Linked DNA regions of Homo sapiens: region 1 is linked to region 2. The links are contacts of gene promoters, found by promoter capture Hi-C in blood cells and fetal thymus (Javierre and others, 2016). All regions are on one chromosome and are shown on one strand. The core of a region is centred on a gene start or on the middle of the fragment in contact, and the rest is flanking DNA. Distances in the headings are between cores, read along the strand shown.

The links. The method cuts DNA at HindIII sites, captures the fragments that hold promoters and counts their contacts. A CHiCAGO score of 5 or more calls a contact.
Region 1: a fragment that was not itself captured here is called in contact with the fragment with the promoter of WDR73 in region 2 in 6 of 17 cell types (naive CD8 T cells, fetal thymus, naive CD4 T cells and 3 more); the score reaches 6.2 in naive CD8 T cells.

The regions. Positions count from the first base shown.
Region 1 is chr15:84,957,635-84,962,761 of GRCh38, reverse strand. It overlaps a transcript of SLC28A1 not described here. Among named protein-coding and RNA genes, the nearest start is that of PDE8A, 22 kb to the left of the region's middle. The HindIII fragment of the contact is 954 bases long and covers 3,176-4,129 here.
Region 2 is chr15:84,651,653-84,656,161 of GRCh38, reverse strand. WDR73 (WD repeat domain 73) reads left to right here and starts at 1,879. Exons shown (of 8, transcript NM_032856.5): 1 at 1,879-1,928; 2 at 2,463-2,530; 3 at 3,360-3,448. The coding sequence starts at 1,888. It overlaps NMB (neuromedin B), which reads left to right. Exons shown (of 3, transcript NM_021077.4): 3 at 753-1,030. The coding sequence ends at 788. RefSeq lists enhancers at 1,893-2,132, 1,559-2,526. The HindIII fragment of the contact is 10,475 bases long and covers 1-4,509 here.

The DNA of each region.
Region 1 (5,127 bases), core at 2,403-4,902, 300 kb before region 2:
CTTCTGGGGTAAAAATCTTTTCCTCTCCCTTCTTCCTGCTCTCAAAGGCCCACCCTTGGCCTGGTGCAGTGACTCACATCTGTAATCCCAGCACTAGGAGTTTGAGACCAGCCTGGGCAACATGGTGAAACCCCATCTCTACTAAAAATACAAAACATTGGCCAGGCATGGTGGCATGCACCTATAGTTCCAGCTACTCCAGAGGCTGAGGTGGAAGGATCACCCGAGCCCAGGAGATGGAGGTTGCAGTGAGCCCTGATCATGTCACCATACTCCAGCCTGGGCGACGGAGCAAGACTCTATCTCAAAAAACAAAAAATCATAGGCCCACCCTTTCTTTCTTCTCTTTCCAGGACACCTTACAGAGTCTCTATAAAGAGTCAACGAAGGCTGGGTGCAGTGGCTCACACCTATAATCCTAATACTTTGAGAGGCTGAGAAGGGAAGATCACCTGAGGCCAGGAGTTCGAGACAAGCCTGGGCAACATAGCGAGATCTCTGTCTCTACAAAAAAGAAAAATTAGCCGGGCATGGTGGTGAGCACTTGTAGTCTCAGCTACTCTGGAGGCTTAGGCGGGAGGATCACCTGAGCTCAGGAGTTGGAGGCTTCAGTGAGCTATGATCACACCATTGCACTCCAGCCTGGGTGGCAGAGTGAGACCCTGTCTCTAAAAATAATTAAGAAATTTAAAAAAAAATTTAGGTCAAGATTATTGCAAAAGACAGAAAGACCCACCAACTTCCGATAGCTTTTATGCTCTGACCACCAGAAATACCCAAGGCAAGGAAACACCAAGGGACTCACTCTCTGCTTGAAAGAGCCAGGGGAGGAGCAAATGTAAACCAAATGAGCACAGGGTAACATTTCAATGAATCATCTTGCCCCAGTGGTTTGATGAAGGGCAGTATCTCTGTCGTAGGTGCTGCCGTTGTGAATCCCAAACTCTTCCTGGCTGTCTCACCTAGTTAGTGACTTTACCTGGCATGAGCTTCTCTCACCCAACATCTTGGAGTACTTGGACCACCTTAAACTGCTGCTGTATTAATTAACTGTCATTAAATGATGCTGCCGTAACAGTCTCGGAATCTTAGTGTCTTACGACCATCAAGATTTATCTCTCAGCCAGGCAAAGTGGCTCATACCTGTAATCCCAGCACTTTGGGAAGCCAAGGCAGTAGGATCATTTAAGGCCAGGAGTTCAAGACCAGCCTGGTCAACATAGCAAGACCTCGTCTCTACAAAAAATAAAATAAAATAAAATATTAGCCAGGTGTGACGGCACATACATGTAGTCCCAGCTGCTTGGGAGACTGAGGTAGGAAGATCCCTTGAGCCCAGGAGGTTGAGGCTACAGTGAGCCATGATTATATCACTGTACCCCAGCTTGGGCAACAGAGTGATACCCTGTCTCTAAAAAAAAAAAAAAAAATTCTCTCTCACTCACAGAATGAGTCACCTGAGGTTGCTGCGGCTCTATTCCATGCATTTCTTTATCCTGAAATCCAGGCTGAAAAGAGAAGCCCCTTTCTGAGTCACGCTGTTCTCAAAAGAGGCAGGCTGCTTGGATGGTTCAGAGCACGGCCTTGCATTCAGATAAGGCTAGGCAAAAATGCCTGCATTATCAGAGTTAATGCTTACAACACCCCTACGAGTTCGGAGGTGATATTCTCATTTTACAGATGAGAAACCTGAAATTATCTTGCCCGAGGACACACAGGGATGTGAAGAAGTGGAGCCGGAACTCAACCATGTATGTGTCTGGCTCTAAAGCCCAGGCTTTCCCTCACCCTGCTATTCTGTCCCTGCAAAGCCAATTCAGGATCAGCCAGTTAAACATGCTGAATTGAGAGCACCTGTAGTTAGCACTGTTGTCGCTCAAAACTCCACTAAAAAAAGGGGAAAGAAAGAAAAGATTTATAAAGCAATAAGGACTAAGAGAGTGAGAGCAGCAACAGGAGAGATAAGGAATGTTAACACAGTTTTGGAAGCAGAGCTGATAAAGCTGAACTGTGAAGCTCAGGAACTGGAGGCACCTATTACTGCAAAAGCGAGGGCGAAGGTGGGGCTGAAAACAGGAAGCGGAGTTGAAAGCCTAGAGCCCCAGGCCCACCTGCCCATCACCCACATCCAGGTGGCTCTTTCTTCTCTGACAGGAAACTGGAGTTTTATCCTATGGAGATATTGAATCAGAAAAGCAGGCACAGGCCAGGCACAGTGGATCATGCCTGTAATCCCAGCACTTTGGCCGGCCGAGTCAGGTGGATCGCTTGAGTACAGGGGTTCGAGGCCAGCCTGGGCAACATAGTGCAACCCTGTTTCTACTAAAAATGCAAAAATTAGCCGGGCATGGTGGCACATGCCCATAATCCAAGTTACTTGGGAGGCTGAGGCAGGAGAATCTCTTGAATTCAGCAGGGGCGGAGGTTGCAGTGAGCTGAGATTGCGCCACTGTACTCCAGCCTGGGCGACAGAGCAAGACCTTGTCTCAAAAAAAAAAAAAAAAAAAAAAAAAAAAAAAAAAAAAAAAAAAAAGCAGGCAGGCACAGGGGAGTGGAAAATGTTCTGTATTTTAAAGAAAGATTACGGGAGAGTTTATAAACTGAATGTTCAGCACCACCTCCTCCCTCTTTGTGCCACTGTATTCCTGGAATTTTCTCTACCCTATGTGTGCCCTCTCCAGGCAGGAGACTGGAAGATTCTTCTCTGGAGAAATATCATGACCCCAGAAAATAGATTTATAGGTACTGAAATCCAAGAGTTCCCCCCATTGAAATAGATGGTCTCAGCCCAGTTATCTCACAGTAAGATACACTAGTTGATAAGCCTTATCCCTCCCCAACTCCTCAGTGTTTAAGCAACTCTTCAGGGACTCATTGTTACGTATGAACGTAAAACAAAGGATCACCATAGATTTGAGGACAGAATCTAATATGGAAGACAGAGATCAAAACAAACAAAACAAAAAGGAATGGAGGGTCCAGAGACAATGCACATGGACAAAGAAAAATGCCTTGAAACTATTAATATTCTCAGAGACACAGGAAATGATATTACTCACATGAAACAGGAAGGGCATATTAGAAACAAAGAAAACCCAACCATGAGGAAAGAGCTTTGGAAAGTTAAAATTATGATAGCAGGAAACAAGTTGATAGAAAAGTTGGAAGACAAGCTTAAGGACAATTTTCAGAAAGCAAACAAAATTATAAAGAAAGAACAATAAGAGAAGAGAGGTAAAAAAATTCGAAGATAAATTCGGAGGGTCTAACATTACAAAAAAAAAAGGAGTTTCAGAAAGAGAAAATAGAGAAAATGAAAGAGAGAAAATTAACAAAGAAAGGATATAAAACTTCCCTGACTGGTCATGGTGGCTCATGCCTGTAATCCCAGCACTTTGGAAGACCGAGGTGGGCAGATCACTTGAGGCCAGGAGTTTGAGACCAGCCTGGCCAACATGGCAAAACCCCATCTCTATAAAAAATACAAAAATTAGCTGGGCATGGTGGCAAAGGCCTGTAATCCCAGCTACTTGGGAGGCAGAGGTGGGAGGATCACCTAGGCCTGGGATGGTCGAGGCTGCAATGAGCTGTGATCATGCCACTGCACTCCAGCCTGGGTGACAGAGTGAGACCTCATCTCTTTTTTTTTTTTTTTTTTTTTTGAGATGAAGCCTCACTCTGTCACCCAGGCTGGAGTGCAATGGCGCAATCTCGGCTCACTGCAACCCCCACCTCCTGGGTTCAAACGATTCTCCTGCCTCAGCCTCCCGAGTAGCTAGGACTACAGGTGTGCACCACTCAACCCTGCTAATTTTTGTATTTTTAGTAGAGATGAGGTTTCACCATGTTGGCCAAGCTGGTCTTGAACTCTTGGCCTCAAGTGATCCACCCACCTTAGCCTCTCAAAGTGCTGGGATTACAGGCATGAGCCACCATGCCCAGCAAGACCCCATCTCAAAAAATAAAAATAAAATAAAAAAAATTTTGAGACCATCCTGGGCAACATAATGATATCTCATCTCTATAAAAGAAATTTTAAAATTAACCAGGTTTGGTGGTGCCTTCCTGTAGTCCCAGCTATTTGGGAGGCTGAGGTGGGAGGATGGCTTGAGTCTGAGAGACCAAAGCTTCAGTAAGCTACGGTTGCACCACTGTACTCCAGGCTGGGTAATAGAATGAGACCCTGCCTCAAACAAACAAACAAACAAACAAAAAACTGTAAGAGGAAGTGATTTCCAAACCTAGATTATATTCCCTACTAAGCTATTAACCAAGTGTGATGGTAGAATAAAGACATTTTCAGATATGCAATTTTTCACAAAATTTGATCTCTTGTGTATACTTTCTCAGGTGTTCTACCAAAATGAGGGAATAACCCAAGAAAGAGAAAGACAAGGGTTCCAAAAATAGGACATCCACCCAAGAGAGGTGTAAGCAAGTCCCAGGGTGACAGCTGAGCAGCAGCAGGCCTGAAGAGAACCAGGTGGAATAAGATAACACAGGGTTCCAGAAGGAACATCTCGGGAAAAGAGGGAATCAGATATAGGACCTTATAGAAAATAGCTCTCAGAGCTTGCGGATTTATATATATAAACAATTTTCTCTGGATATAAGACCAATATACAAAAATCAAGTATATTTCTACAATGGGCAATCCAATGACAAAATGAAGAAAACAATTCTGTTTTCTTCAGAAATTCTAAGTACTTAGGAATAAATTTAATAAATGAAGTGCAAGACTTGTACAATGAAAACTACAAAACATTGTTGAAAGAAATTAAAGAAGATCTAAGCAAACGGAGAGGCATCCCATGTTCATGGATCAGAGGACTTAATATTTTAAACTGGATGTACCCCTCAAATTGATCTACATATTCAATGCAATCTCTATCAAAATCTCAGCTGGGTTTTTTGCAGAAATTGATGAGGTGATTTTAAAATTCATATGGAAATGCAAGGGAACTAGAATAGCTTAAACAATCTTTAAAAAGAATAACAAAGATGGAAGACTCATACTTCCTGATTCCAAACCTTCCTACAAAGCTACAGTAATCAAAATAGTGTGGTAGTGGCATGAGGATAGACTACAGATAAATGGAATAGAATTAAGAGCTCAAAAATAAACCC
Region 2 (4,509 bases), core at 630-3,129:
ATATTCTTCACCCATAAAATGAAGATAATAAGGCCCATCTCCCATTAAATGAGACCATTTATGTCAAATGCTCAGCATGGTGCCTGGCTCATAGACAGCCCTTAGTAGATGCGAGCTCTTATCAGTCTGTGAGCTCCCTGGCGGCACCTGTTGTAGACTCGCCTTCATATCCCCCAGTGTGCCTAGCATATAGTGTGTGCATTTTGAAGGGAGAGGCATTCCCTAGAAAAGGTCCAACCCAGCCTCAACCAACATCCCTGACTTCCTGAGGCACAGAACCAGCAGCCCCTGAGGACCTCAGATGTAAGGCCTAGGAGCTTGGGCTGGCTGAGTCTGAAGGGAAACAATGTCACCTCTAATGCCCTTGGTTTTGAAGCTCTGACACATGCAGACCAACTAGAGAATCTCAGAAGCAGCAGTGCCTACGTCTGGGGCTTCAGAGTGAGGTCTGGGGCAGAGCTGGGGTGGGGGAGTGAGGACGCTGACACTAGCCCAGCACCAAGCACTGTATTTGGATTTTCTTCCACGATCTTCTTTGACTGTCATGACCACCCTGGGTGGTTGGGGCTGTGTTCTGAGAAAACTACTGCCCCGACCCCTCCAAGGCAATTCAGGGTGCTCTGGGGCCTGCCTCAGCTGACAGCCTGCTGGTGCCCACCTCTGCAGACATCTGGCACTTAGGAATGGCAGGATGCCCCTATCTTTATCAGGAGCCCCTCCCTGGCTCAATTCTTCTGTATGTTTCTCTTCAGTACAGGAGGCTGCTGGTACAAATACTGCAGAAATGACACCAATAATGGGGCAGACACAACAGCGTGGCTTAGATTGTGCCCACCCAGGGAAGGTGCTGAATGGGACCCTGTTGATGGCCCCATCTGGATGTAAATCCTGAGCTCAAATCTCTGTTACTCCATTACTGTGATTTCTGGCTGGGTCACCAGAAATATCGCTGATGCAGACACAGATTATGTTCCTGCTGTATTTCCTGCTTCCCTGTTGAATTGGTGAATAAAACCTTGCTCTTTACATACAATGCCTGGTCCTCTCCTTTCACCCGTCTTTTAGGGGATGGGAGGAAAAGGGGGCTGGAGGGCAGAGTGTTCAGTGAGATGGGGCTGGCTCAAAAAGTCCAGAATACCCCATGCCATGGCACCAGCCTGGCACTGACTCTGGCCTCCTACCCATTCATTCAGCAAGCAAATAACGCCTGTTGCATGCCAGGCTTCGTGCCAGGCGCGGGGTTCTACTCTCATCTCTGCCACCTACTGGCGCAGGCAAGTGTCACTAGTTTCCTCGCTAGTAAAAGGGGGCTGCAGACACTACACTGCCGGGCTTTACTCAATACCCCCGCCGGACTTGGAGGGGAGCGCCGAGTTGGGATCCAGACCCTGCCGGCCGCTTCCTCTCTTCTCTGGCCGTCAGAAGGGTTGCCAGCGTTAGCAAATAAAAATACTGGACACCCAGTTAAATTCGAATTTCAGATAAACAATAATTTTATCTAATAAAATGTACCAAATATTGCATGAACATACTCGTAAGAAAGAAATTATTCACCGTTTTTCTGAAATTCGAATTTAACCGGGCGGTCCTGTATTATTTCTGGCCTTGGAGCATTCATTGCCCCTCTCTTGGGCTGCAAACACCTGGCCCTAAAACGGGCGATCATTTGGTCCTCAGGTCCTGCTTGGAGCTGACAGCGGGAAAGTCCCGATTTCAGGTCACTTTTCCCGGAGCTTTCGCGGAGAAAACCCGTAACCCACCCATGCCGGGCCGCAGCTCAGCCTGTTAACCCCGCCCCTAACGGGAGGCCCTGCCCACATCTCGCGAGAGCCGCGCGGCCCCCGAAGGCTCGCAGGCGGAAGTGAGACGCCGGAAGCGGTCGTTGCCATGGATCCTGGGGACGACTGGCTGGTGGAATCCTTGCGCTTGTAAATCGTACGGGGCTGGGACATGGGAGCTGGGCCTGGAGCTTGCCTGGCGGGCGGATGGGTGTGGGTGGAGGCACGTTGGGGATCCTGGTGCAGAGTGGGCCAGCTGTGGCCTCGGGGCTCGCCACCGTGGAGGACTCCGCCTGGGCCTAGGCCCCCATCTCTAGGAAATGGCTCCTTCCTGCGTGCGCGCGTTGTGAGATTACTAGTAAGAGCCGCGCTTGTGAAGACGCAGTGCCCAGTTAGTTTGCGCCAGCCTCTGAGTTCAGCTCAGAACACAGATGATCTCATTGATTCCTCACGTCAACCTTGGGAAATCTGGGTACCCTGGGACGTCCACACATGAGGACCGAGGCTCAGGGACATCAAGGGACTGGCCTGGTCCCAGAAACAGGGAGTAAAATGGGAAGTAAACTCAGTCCCACGTCTGCCTGACTCCAGAGTTTGGGCCACTGAACCATGCGGCTGCCATCTTGGAGTTCTTTGAGCTGTGAAGTGCTGTGCATCGTGTGATTCTGTGTCCCTTTTGTGCAGGTACCAGGATTTCTATGCATTCGACCTGTCAGGAGCCACTCGAGTCCTTGAATGGATTGATGACAAAGGTGGTATACCTTTCTAGCCCTGAAGGAGAGGGAATCTCACTCCTGAGCTGGGTTTCAGGAGCTAAGCCTAGAGGGACCCAACCCACTCTTCTGGGCACCTGAGAGTCACTTGTAGCAATTTGATGCCCCATCAGCACTAATATTCCTCTTATTAAGATCTCTGACCGGGAGCAGTGGTTCACGCCTGTAATCCCAGCACTTTGGGAGGCCGAGGCAGGCGGATCACCTGAGGTCAGGAGTTCGAGACCAGTCTGGCCAACATGGTGAAACCCCGTCTCTACTGAAAATACAAAAATTAGCCGGACGAGGTGGTGCACACCTGTGTACCAGCAGCTACTGGGGAGGCTGAGGCAGGAGAATCACTTGAACCCAGGAGGTGGAGGTTGCAGTGAGCTGAGATCACGACACTGTATTCCAGCGTGGCTAACAAAAAAAGTCTTCAGGCTGGGCACTTCAGGAGGCTGAGGCAGCGGGCAGATTGCTTGATCCCAGGAATTTGAGACTAACCTAAGCAAGGAAACCCTGTCTCTACAAAAAATACAAAAATTAGCCGAGCATGGTGGCTCACGCCTATAATCCCAGCTACTCTGAAGGCTGTGGTGGGAGGATCACTTGAGCCTGGCAGGTTGAGGCTGCAGTGAGCTGTGATCGGACCACTGCACTCCAGCCTGGCTGACACAGCGAGACCTTGTCTGAAAAAGACACAACCAGGTACTCAATTCCTCCATACAAGGCTGCACAGTGAAGGAATGTATCCTTACTTCGGGGGATTGCATGGTCTGCAATCTTTCTAACAATTTGTGACAGCTACCTCTGCTTCTTTTTCCAGGAGTCTTTGTTGCTGGCTATGAAAGCCTGAAAAAGAATGAAATTCTTCATCTGAAATTACCTCTCAGACTTTCTGTAAAGGAAAACAAGGTAACTTAAAATATAAATGCTGAGTATGTCAACTTTTATTTATTTATTAAACATTTGTGGAGCTCCTGTTATCTACCAGGTATTGTCCTGGATACTAGAAAGAGAGAAAGCGCTAGGCCTGCCCTTCTAGTCTAACAGAGGGAGGCACATATGCACAGAGATAAATGCTGTAGAATGTCTCGTGGTTTACAGAGGGCTATCAGAGGAGGAGGTCAGTTATACTTTATCAGAAATAGATTTAGGGAGCGATTAAGGATATAGAGGGCGGTCGAAATGCGTAGAGTGATTAAAGTCACCTAGTGAATGTGTGGTATATAAGGAGTGAGGAGAATATAGTGAGGACGGAACCTCAGGGAACACATTTAAGGGATGAGTACAGGAAGATGCACCCCCCCTCCCCAAAGAATACTAAGAAAGAACAGCCTCTGAGGTAAGAGGAATCTCAGAAAAGGTCAATGTTTCTGAAGCCAAGAGAAGAGAACTTCTCAAGAAAAAAAGAGTTAGTAGCTGTCTAGAGTTCCAATAAAATCATTGAGAGAAGAATTGAAGGCCAGGTGCAGTGGCTTACGCCTGTAATCCCAGCACTTTGGGAGGCCGAGTTGGGCGGATCATGAGGTCAGGAGTTCGGGACCATCCTGACCAACATGGTGAAACCCCGTCTCTACTAAAAATACAAAAATTAGCCAGGCATGGTGGCGCACACCTGTAATCCCAGCTACTCAGGAGGCTGAGGCAGGAGAATTGCTTGAACCCGGGAGGCGGAGGTTGTAGTGAGCTGAGATCGTGCCACTGCACTCCAGCCTGGGCAACAGCAAGACTGCATCTCAAAAAAAAAAATCATTCAGATGAGGAATTGAGTTCATTCATAAGACTGGCAATTGGGAAACTCTTGGTGACCTCTGCTACAGGATTTTTGCTGGTGGTGGTCAGGCCCAAAGACTAAAAATGAAGAGGAAGCAGAGTCACGAAATGTAGGGAGGGAAGAAGCTAAAGCAGCAACTAGTCGGAAACACAGATCTGAGGGAAGGTTTCCTAAACACAGAGGCTTGAGCAGAGTTAGA